2 separate regions of the Homo sapiens genome follow, and region 1 is linked to region 2. Evidence: promoter capture Hi-C in human tissues and cell types (Jung and others, 2019). All regions are on one chromosome and are shown on one strand. Each heading gives the region's core, a stretch centred on a gene start or on the middle of the fragment in contact. The rest is flanking DNA. Distances are from core to core; before and after follow the strand shown. Region 1 has its middle 76 kb from the start of MAPKAPK5-AS1. Region 2 holds the start of HECTD4 (HECT domain E3 ubiquitin protein ligase 4).

Evidence for each region. Contacts are between HindIII fragments. The study calls those that stand out against the background at their distance.
Region 1: a contact is called between a fragment that was not itself captured here and the fragment with the promoter of HECTD4 in region 2, in 1 of the 25 tissues and cell types used here (spleen).

The regions. Positions count from the first base shown.
Region 1 is chr12:111,916,247-111,921,846 of GRCh38, reverse strand. No RefSeq gene overlaps it. Among named protein-coding and RNA genes, the nearest start is that of MAPKAPK5-AS1, 76 kb to the right of the region's middle. The HindIII fragment of the contact is 8,585 bases long and covers 1-5,600 here.
Region 2 is chr12:112,380,082-112,385,739 of GRCh38, reverse strand. HECTD4 (HECT domain E3 ubiquitin protein ligase 4) reads left to right here and starts at 3,309. Exons shown (of 76, transcript NM_001388303.1): 1 at 3,309-3,788. The coding sequence starts at 3,612. RefSeq lists silencers at 2,989-3,278, 3,389-3,658, 3,669-4,158 and enhancers at 3,166-3,665, 4,851-5,351. The HindIII fragment of the contact is 28,101 bases long and covers 1-5,658 here.

The sequences.
Region 1 (5,600 bases), core at 2,875-5,374, 460 kb after region 2:
GCCTACCAAGTAGCTGGGATTACAGGCGCCTGCCATGGCGCCCAGCTAATTTTTGTATTTTTAGTAGAGACAGGGTTTCACCATCTTGGCCAGGCTGGTCTTGAACTCCTGATCTTGTGAGCCACCTGCCTCAGCTTCCCAAAGTGCTAAGATTACAGGTGTGAGCCACTGCGCCCAGCCAGTATCGCTTCTTTCTTAAATGTTTGGTGGAATTTACCAGTGATCCCCCATCTAGGCCTGGTGCTTTCCTCTTTGAAAAGTTACTAATTATTGATTCAATTTTTAAATAGATACAGGCTACACTAAGATGATGTGTTTCTTTTCGTATGGGCTTTAACAGATTGTGTCCTTCTAGGAATTGGTCCATTTCATCTCTTATCAAATTTGTGAGCATGGAAGTATTCCTAATATTTATTATTCTTTTAATGTTTATGGGATCAGTAGTGATGGGCCCCTCTTTCATTTCTGATATTAGCAATTTATGTCTTTTCTAGTTTTTTCTTGGTTACTTTGCCTAGAGGTTTATCAATTATATTGATTTTTCCCAAAGAAACACATTGGTTTCATTCCTTTTCTCAATAGATTTCTTATTTTCAGTTTTATTTATTTCAGTTTTTATTTTTGTATCTCTTTTCTTCTGTTTGCTTTAGGCTTACATTGCTTTTCTTTCTCTCGTTTCCTAAATTGAAGCTAAGATTATTGATTTTAGATGTTCTTTCCTAATATATTCATTAAGTGCTATAAATTTCATTGAAGTATTGCTTTCACTGCATCCCACAAAATTTTGACAAGTTGCATTTCATTTTAATTTAGTTCAAAATATTTTAAAATTTCTCTTGAGACTGCTTTGACCCATATGTTATTTATTTATTTATTATTTTTGAGATGGTCTTACGCTGTTGCTCAGGCTGGAGTGATCCTGCTGCCTCAGCCTCTCGAGTAGCTGGGACCACAGGTGCACACCATCAGCTAATTTTTAATTTTTTGAAGAGATGGGGTCTCCCTGTGTTGCCCAGGCTTGTCTTGAACTTCTGGGCTCAAGCAATCCATCCCTTTGGCCTCCCAAAGTGCTGGGATTACAGGCATGAGCCACCATGCCCGGCTGACCCATGTGTTACTTAGAAGTGTGTTGTTTCATCTCTAGATATTTTAGGATTTTCCAGCTATCTCTCTTACTGACTTCTAGTATAATTACATTTTTAAGAAATCTATTTTTTATTTTTTAAATTGAAATAAAAATATAGATCTGATTTACCATCTTTACTATTTTTAAGTGTACAGTTAATAAATACTCTATATATTTTTTCAAAAATAATTTCATTGTGGTCCAGGAGCATACTTTGTTTGATTTCTATTTTTAAAATTTTGCTAAACTATGTTTTATGGCCCAGAATGTGGTCTTAGGGAATGTATCATATGAGCTTGAGAAGAATGTGTATTCTGCTTTTGGTGAATGAAGTGTTCCATAAATATCTTCAATTCTCAGCTACCTTCCATGTCTTCTTAGTGGAGGTAGGAGTAGATATAACATTTTTTGTTTTTTTGTGTGTGGTGATGAGGTTTCACCAAGTTGCCCAGGCTGGCTTAAACTCCTGGGCTCAAGAGATCCGCCTGCCTCAGCCTCCCAAAGTGCTAGGACTACAGGAGTGAGCCACCACTCCTGGCTGGGTATAACTTTTTAATAAATTATCCACTGCTTTCAACATAAACCACTTCTATATCCAATTCCCAAATCTATCTTGGAATTTTTATAGCTCTTCTAACAGGGTTTTAACTCTAAGGGAGCAAGCCTTTACACCAATGTCAAAATTACCTCACTGTCCTATCTGAATATTCTCCAAGGTTCTTCCTCCTTCCTTTACCCAGAGAGGATTTTTATTTCTTTTTTTTTTTTAAATAATGAATAAACTGGTCTTTTTTCCTCTGTGCCTTATAGTATAAGCCCTATTCTCTTAAGGAATCCAGGTCTTGACTTCTAGGAACATGACTCTCCTAGCTTCTCAAAAAAGCACCCCCACCCTCACCTTTTTTTTTTTTTTTTTTTTTTTTTTTTTTTTTTTTTTTAGATGGAGTCTCGTTCTGTTGCCCAGGCTGGAGTGCAGTGGCACAATCTCGGCTCACTGCAAGCTCGGCCTCCCAGGTTCACGCCATTCGCCCTGCCTCAGCCTCCCAAGTAGCTGGGACTACAGGTGCCCACCACCATACCCGGCCAATTTTTTTGTATTTTCAGTAGAGATGGGATTTCACCGTGTTAGCCAAGATGGTCTTGATCTCCTGACCTCATGATCCGCCCATCTCAGCCTCCCAAAGTGCTGGGATTATAGGCGTGAGCCACTGCACCCAGACTTTTTTATTTATTTTATTTTTTATTTTTTTGACAGAGTCTTACTCTTGCCTAGGCTGGAGTGCCGTGGCGCAATCTCAGCCCACTGCAACGTCCGCCTCCCAGGTTCAAGCAATCCTCATGCCTCAGCTGCCCAAATAGTTGGGACTACAGGTGCACACCACCACCCCCAGCTAATTTTTGTATTTTTAGTACAGACAGGTTTTCATCGTGCTGGCTAGGCTGGTCTTGAATTCCTGGGCTCACTTGATAGGCACACCTCGGGCTCAAAAGCACAACTCCTGTTTTGTTTTGTTTTGTTTTGTTTTGTTTTTGGAAACAGAATCTTGCTCTGTCACCCAAGCTGGATTGCAGTGGTGTGATCTTGGCTTACTGCAACCTCCACCTCCCAGGTTCAAGCAATTCTCCTGCCTCAGCCTCCCAAGTAGCTGGGATTATAGGCATGCATCACCACGCCCAGCTAATTTTTCTGTTTTTAGTAGAGACAGGGTTTCACCATTTGGCCAGGCTGGTCTCAAACTCCTGATCTCAAATGATCCACCCTCCTCAGCCTCCCAAAGTTCTGGGATTACAGGTGTGAGCCACCATCCCCGGCCATCCACTCTTAATAAATAAAAAATACTTTGATCCTAAGGCTATTTTTTTCTGCCAAGGATTCAGCTTCCCAAGTAGCCACATGCTGGGCTAGTTTTTTGTTTGTTTGTTTGTTTGTTTGTTTGTTTTGGTAGAGATAGGACCTCAGTATTTAGCCTAGGCTGGTCTCGAACTCCTGGGCTCCAGCAGTCCTCCTGCCTTGGCCTCTCAAAGTGCTGGGATTACAGGTGTGAGCCACCATGTTCAGCCCTGCCAAAGATTTTGAGAGCCCATTTTGGAACTCAAAACCAAAAATTTGACTCTTTATTCTTATTATTTGATTCCTTTCTTCCTGGGACAATAAACTTCAGCCTCACTGTCTCTATTTAGTTAGAAGAGCTTTCAGTAAGAAGAAATTACTGAGAAGAAAATTATTAATAAGAGGAGAAAATACATTGTCATCCAATTCAGAATGCTATTCTGAAAATTATATAATATTTATTATACTTTCTATTGCTTCCCTTTTTTTCCCTGTCTTTCACTGGCTTGGATAGATTTCCTTTATTCCTTTTCTTATTCCTATGTTACTTTGTAAAGTTTTACTTTGCTTGTCAATACTCAGTTACTCTAGTGGTTACTTTCCTGTTGCTAATAATCATGAATAAACCTCTATCATTATGTCAATATAAATAGTAAGTTATAGCAGTTAAGTGCTCCATCAAAATAATTTACTTGTGGCCAGGCACAGTGGCTCATGCCTGTAATTCCAGCACTTTGGGAGGCCCAGGCAGGCAGATCACTTGAGATCAGGAGTTCGAGACCAGCCTGGCCAACATGGTGAAACCCCATCTCTACTAAAAGTACAAAAATTAGCTGGGCCTGGTGGCATGCGCCTGTAGTCCCAGCTACTTGGGAGGCTGAGGAACAAGAATCACTTTAACCTGGAAGGTGGAGGTTGTAGTGAGCTGAGATGACACCACTGTACTCCAGCCTGGGTGACAGAGCAATACTCCATCTCAAAAAAAAAAAAAATTTATTTGCCATTCCTCTTACCTTTTTCTACCATGAAAATATAATTAAAAGGTTGAGCACAAATATTCCAGGCAAAAACAAATAAGAAGAAAGCAGGGATTGCAATGTTCAAAACAAAGTAAAATTCAAGATTAAAATCATTAATTTTACAGGCAGTGGCTCACACCTCTAATCCCAGCACTTTGGGAGGCTGAGGTGGGCGGATCACGAGTTCAGGAGATCAAGACCATCCTGGCTAACATGGTGAAACCCCGCCTCTACTAAAAATACAAAAAATTAGCTGGGCGTGGTGGCAGGCACCTGGAGTCCCAGCTACTCAGGAGGCTGAGGCAGGAGAATGGCATGAACCCAGGAGGCAGACAGAGGTTGCAGCGAGCTGAGATCGCGCCATTGCACTCCAGCCTGGGCGACAGAGCGAGACTCCATCTCAAAAAATAATAAAATAAAATGAAATGAAATAAAATAAAATCATTAAAGGGGAAAAGAGGATATGTAGTTATTAAGAGGTACACCCAAAAAAGAAAATTTAAGTCATAAATTCTTGTTTTCTTCTTCTTCTTTTTTTTTTTTTTTTTTTTTTTTTTTTTTTTTGAAGTGGAGTCTTGCTCTGTCGCCCAGGCTGGAGTGCAGTGGTGCGATCTTGGCTCACTGCAACTTCTGCCTCCCTGGTTCAAGTGATTCTCCTTCAGCCTCCCGATCTTGGCTCACTGCAACCTCTGCCTCCCTGGTTCAAGTGATTCTCCTTCAGCCTCCCAAGTAGCTGGGACTACAGGCACGTGCCACCATGCCCAGCTAATTTTTTGTATTTTTAGTAGAGATGGGGTTTCACTGTGTTAGCCAGGATGTTCTCAATCTCCTGATCTCATGATCCGCCCGCCTCAGCCTCCCAAAGTGCTGGGATTACAGGCGTGAGCCACTGGGCCCAGCCTAAATTCTTGTTTTAAAACAATATGGCAATCAAGAATGAAATAATATATCACTACAGACCTAACAGATGCCAAAAGAATAATGAGGAACCACTACAAACAGCTTTACAGACGTACATTTGATACCTTAGATAAATGGACCAATTTCTCAAAAAGCACAAACTACTACATCTCACCCAATGTGAACTAGATAAGTTGAATATCTTTATAGCTATTAAGAAAATTGAATTTCGCCAGGCACGGTAGCTCATGCCTGTGATCCCAGCACTTTGGGAGGCTGAGGCGGGCGGATCACCTGAGGTTGGGAGTTTGAGACCAGCCTGACCAACATGGAGAAACCCTGTCTCTACTAAAAATACAAAATTAGCCAGGCATGGTGGCACGTGCCTGTAATCCCAGCTACTTGGGAGGCTGAGGCAGGAGAATCGCTTGAACCCAGGAGGTGGAGGTTGCGGTGAGCCGACATCATGCCATTGCACTCCAGCCTGGGAAAACTCCATCTCAAAAAAAAAAGAAAGAAAAAAGAAAATTGAATTTATAACTTCACATCTCCCAAGAAAAATAATCAGGCCCAGATGGTTTCACTGGAGAATTATAACAAACCTTTAAAAATAAATTAACACTAATTCTACACAATCTCTTCTAGAAAAATAAAAGAGAAGGAAAGGGAACCCTATCCGATTCATTTTATGAGGCCAGCATCACCCTGATACCAAAACCAGAGA
Region 2 (5,658 bases), core at 2,060-4,559:
TTGGGAGGCCGAGGTGGGTGGATCACCTGAGGTCAGGACTTTGAGACCAGCCTGACCAACATGGTGAAACCCCGCCTCTACTAAAAATACAAAATTGGCCGAGCGTGGTGGTACATGCCTGTAATCCCAGCTACTCGGGAGGCTGAGGCAGGAGAATCACTTGAACCCAGGAGATGGAGGTTGCAGTGAGCCAAGATTGCACTACTGCACTCCAGCCTGGGTGACAGAGCAAGACTCTGTCTCAAAAAAAATAAAATAAAATAAATAATAGAGACAGGGTCTCTCTCTGTCACCCAGGCTAGAGTGCAGTGACACAACCATGGCTCATTGCAGCTTCAACCTCCTGGGCTCAAGCAATCCTCCCACCTCAGCCTTCTAAGTAGCTAGGACTACAGCTGCACATCACGATGCTCACCTAATTTTGCTTGTTTATTTATTTATTTATTTATTTAGAGACAGCGTTGCACTCTTGTTGCCCAGGCTGGAGTGCAATGGCGCTATCTCGGCTCACCGCAACCTCCGCCTCCTGGGTTCAAGTGATTCTCCTGCCTCAGCCTCCTGAGTAGCTGGGACTACAGGTGCACGCCACGACACCTGGCTAATTTTTATATATTTTTTAGTAGAGAAAGGGTTTTGCCATGTTGGCCACGCTGCTCTCGAACTCCTGACCGCAGGTGATCTGCCTGCCTCAGCCTCCCAAAATGCTGGGATTACAGGTGCAAGCCACCACATCCAGCCTATATATATATTTTTAATTGTGATAGATAGTTGTTATTAGGTTTGGAAAAGGGAATGAAGGGCCGGGCGCGGTGGCTCACACCTGTAATCCCAGCACTTTGGGAGGCCGAGGCGGGTAGATCACGAGGTCAGGAGTTCGAGACCAGCCTGACCGACATGGTAAAACCCCGTCTCTACTAAAAATACAAAAATTAGCCAGGCATGGTGGTGCACGCCTGTAATCCCAGCTACTCGGGAGGCTGAGGCAGGAGAATCACTTGAAACCAGGAGGCAGAGGTTGCAGTGAGTCAAGAGGTTGCAGTGAGCCGAGATCATGCCATTGCACTCCAGCCTGGGCAACAGAGCAAGACTCCGTCTCAAAAAAAAAAAAAAAAGGAATGAAGGAGTTTTCTTACAGTCAAAATAAGGAAGCTGAAGTTGTAAAATCGGACAGACCTGGGTTTACATCTGAGCTTTGATGTTTACTGGCTTTGTGACATTGAGCAAAGTATCTAACTGAGTCTTGACTTCCCAGCTGAAAGTAGGAATAATAATACTCCCCCTCTCAGACATTTGGGAGGATTTGATGAAATGGCCATTCCATTACACTTGCCTGTTTTATTGTTTCCATGGTTCTGATCAACTCTGAACTGCTGGATTTATTGTTCTCTTCTTCCTCCTCTTCCTCTTCTTTTCTTCTTTTTTGAGACAGGGTCTTACTCTGTTGCCCAGGCTGGAGTGCAGTGGCATAATCTTAGCTGAATCACTGCAACTTCTGCCTTCTGGGCTCAAACGATCTTCCTGCTTCAGCCTCCTGAGTAGCTGGGACTATGGGTGTGCACCACCACGCCTGGCTAATTTTTGTATTTTTTGTAGTGACGGGGTTTTGTCATGTTGCCCAAGGGGGTCTCGAGCTTCTGGGCTCAAGAGATCTGCCAGCCTTGGCCTCCCAAAGTGTTGGGATTACCCACGTGAGCCACTGTGCCCGGCCATAATATTCCATCTTATGGATATATCATATTTTAGTTAACCAGCCCCATATTGTTGGACATCTAGATTGATAAGTTTTTCCTTTTGTAAACAATATTGAGCTACACAACCCTGTATATCCATCCTTGACTACGAGTCTGATTATTTCCTTCAGACAACTTCCTCAAAGTTGAATTGCTGGATCAAAGGGTATGCACCTTAATGTTCTCCTGTTATTGTTATTGTTATTATTATTATTATTATTATTATTGAGATGGAGTCTTGCTCTGTTGCCCAGGCTGGAGTGCAGTGGCATGATCTCGGCTCACTGCAACCTCCGCCTCCTGGGTTCCAGCTATTCTCCTGCCTCAGCCTCCTGAGTATCTGGGACTACAGGCATGTGCAACCATTCCTGGCTAATTTGTGTATTTTTTTTAGCAGAGACAGGGTTTCATCATGTTGACCAGGCTGGTCTCGAACTCCTGACCTCAGGTGATCTGCCCACCTTGGCCTCCCAAAGTGCTGGGATTACAGGTGTAAGCCACTGTGCCCGGCCTGTTTTATTATTTTTTAAGTGATAAAAATATACAAGTAATAGAGAACAATCTCATCTCAGTAGTTCCAGACCAGCCCCACACTCCCATGGCAACTCACCTTAAACATCTGGTGTGTATTTGTTCATGCATTGTTCTTTATACATATAGTTTTCCTTTCTTGTTTTTATAAAATGGCACTGGTGGGCATATATATATTTTTGGTGGGGAGGGAGGGATGGGGTCTCCCTCTGTCGCCCGGGCTGGAGTGCAGTGGCAAGATAATAGCTCACTGCAGCCTCCACCTCCTGAGTTCAAGAGATCCTCTTGCCTCAGCCTCCCGAGTAGCAGGACTACAGACGCTTGCCACCCTGCCCCGCTAATTTTTATTTTTTGTAGAGATGGGGTCTCCCTATGTTGCCCAGGCTGGCCTCAAACTTCTGGGCTCAAGCAGTCCTTCTGCCTTGACCTCCGTGCTGGGATTACAGGTGTGAGCCACCGCACCCGGCCTAGTGAGCATATTTTTAAGGTGTATGTCAATTAGTGTGGAACACTGATGGAACGAACATAGCAATAATTAGAATTGCCACTCATGGAGCACATATTAAGTGTCGGGCATTGAGCACCAAGCATTGTGGACAGACGCTTTATTTTCACCAGGTTTTGAGTGCTTACTGGGTACTAGACTTTTCAGTCAATATTAATCATCTACTATGTGATTCTACCAAGTGCTTATGAACAAGTGTGCAGCGCCTATTCTGCGCCAGCCTTTTGCTTGCATCTCATTTAAACGTGAAAACAAGGAGTGATCTCTATGCTCTGCCCAGGGTGGGGGCGCGGGCCCGAGCAAGGGGTGCACACCTGAGTAGGGACAGGACGGGGGAAGCGGCGTCCTCTTCCCTGGCGCGCTGCAAAGCCAGGGCTACCCTGAATGGCCAGGGGGAGAAGGGGCCGGCGGAGGTCAGGCCGAGGGCAGGCGGCAGCGAAGGGCTAGGCGGACGTCCAGGCCACCCGGGTGGCCTCGTCCGCGGAGCGGTGGGCGGAGCGGCGGGCGGGGCCTGTATTGTCCGCTCCGCGAGGCATGCCGGGAGCCCCGCCCCCAACATGGCGTCTCACTGACAGTTGGTTGCCGAGCGGCAGAGGCGGATCCTGCTCCTGAGGGCGGCGGCGGCGGCGGCGGCGGCGGCGGCGGCAGGGCCGGGGTCTCCCGGGCCGGGGTCGGGGGTATGGCGACTCGGACCGCCTAGGGCGGAGTTGCACGGGCGAGGCAGCAAGTGGGGCGCCGCTGGCGGGCGCGGCGGCCGCTGCCATGGACTGGTGATCGCGGCGGCTCCTGCTCCGTTTCCCCCGGCCGGGCGTCTGCTCCTCAGCGCCAAGCCTTCAGCCGGGGCCATGGGCTCGTCGGCGGCCGCGGCGGCGGCGGCGGCGGCGGCCGCTGACTCGGCGCAGTGGCTCTCGGTGAAGGAAGAGACCATCTTCCTGCACGACGGGCTGATCCGGGTCACCGACCTGGCCGAGCTGCCCAGCGAGATCCTCGGGGCCCCAGAGGCCGCGGACACCGACCTGGAGGTGAGCGAGGCGGCCCCCGGCCCCCGCCATCGGACTGACCCACTCGCCCGGCACCCCCGGGTCGGGCCCCCTCCTCGCCTCAGCCGCGGCCTCGCCTCCCGGCGGCTGCCGGGGCAGGTGTGTGTGGGCGCGGGGCGGGCAGGTGGGGCCGCGGCCGCAGGTCTGCGGACCGCCCGCCCCGCTCTCCCTCCCTCCCTCCTCGGGGCCTGGCGCCCGCAGGGGATTTCATTTGTGGTTTTCTTTTGAGCGTTCCGACACCCGGCATTTTATTAGGCTAGCGCCTGGCTCGGCCTTCATGCCCCAGAGGAGCCACCGCCACCACCCGGGCCCTCCCTCCCCTCCCCCACGGGCCCCCAGGACCCACTTCCAGGGCACACCCAGGTTGCTTAGCTTTGGGAACATTTTGATTTTCACGCTGTGTACCCTCCCATCCTTTTCTTCCCTAGTTCTGTTTTTTTTGTTTGGTTTGGTTTGGTTTTTTTCCGGGAGAGGGTAGTGGCAGCTGCGGGTCCGCGATGGGCAATCCAGCAACTTCTCTGTGTTGTGTCTCGGATGGATTGACACGGGGCCTTTGTCAGGGAAGCGGGCGCTGTGGACAGCGAGAGGGATGCTCCAGCGGCCCTCCATGCACTCTCGGGGAAGGGTCACTGGCGCGTTAGGCCGCAGGGCCTTTTTGTGTGCCCCGGGGGTCGCCAAGCATCCCGGGTTCAGAGCCGTGGCAGGTGCAACAGCAGATCTCATCAGTTGAGCTGCTTGGCCTTGGGGGCAGAAGGGAACCAAATATGCCTGGTTGGTGGGAACTTTCCATCGACTTCACTTGGGTTCGTGTTTGCCTAGAGGTGGGAATACTGGCAGTGTCGTTTCATGGAGGCCAACGGATGCTGACACTGCTCCCCTTCCACTTTGTGGGATGACATTTTGATGTGTAGGTAGCATGGGGTGTCATCAAATTTTTACTGCCGTAAGGAGAGCTTTCTGGGGTAGGGCGCAGAGAGGATGGCCTATCTTCTGGCTATAAACGGCATGCGAGGGATCTTTTGTGTTTTGCGGTTTTGCGTGCAGTTTGGCTTTACGCACAACGAACATTTATAGAAATGAATTAAAAGCCATTACTGTGTGTTTCTGGAAACGGCAGTGATCGGATCACATTGGCCGAGACATTTGGACGTGCTTGAGATGCGAATACGTTCCACTGTATTTTTGTGTCTGGATTTGCGGTTGCTTCAGCACTTCCGTTATGAACTCTTAATTGACTTATTTTACAATCTAGTCACCAAAAAGAGGAGGATATGGTTGGTAGGGAATTCCTAACATGGAATCATCGTTTTATTGTGTCTCATTTGGGCCTGTTCTATAACAAGCAAGGTGTGTCTGAGTGTCTTATCTGCCTGAAAACTCAAGGGGTATTATGCTATGATAGTGGAATCTTTTGATTTAATTGGCTGTGTTGTGTGTGAAAGGTGGAAAGTGGATGCTCTTTGTTTCTTTCTTTTCTTTTTTTTCCCCCGAGACCGAGTCTTGCTCTGTCGCCCAGGCTGGAGTGCAGTGGCGCGATCTCAGCCCACTGCAGCCTCTGCCTCCCGGATTCAAACGATTCTCCTGCCTCTGCCTCCCGAGTTGCTGGGATTACAGGCACGCGCCACCATGCCTGGCTAATTTTTGTATTTTTAGTAGAGACAGGGTTTCACCATGTTGGCCAGGCTGGTCTCGAACTCCTGACCTCAAGTGATCTGCCTGCCTTGGCTTCCCAAAGTGCTGAGATTACAGGCGTGAGCCACTATGCCGTGCCTATGCTCTTTGTTTCTTAAAGACTAATCCAAGTTCACAGAACCAAAATTTATACATATATGTCATTTATGTAGTTTATTTT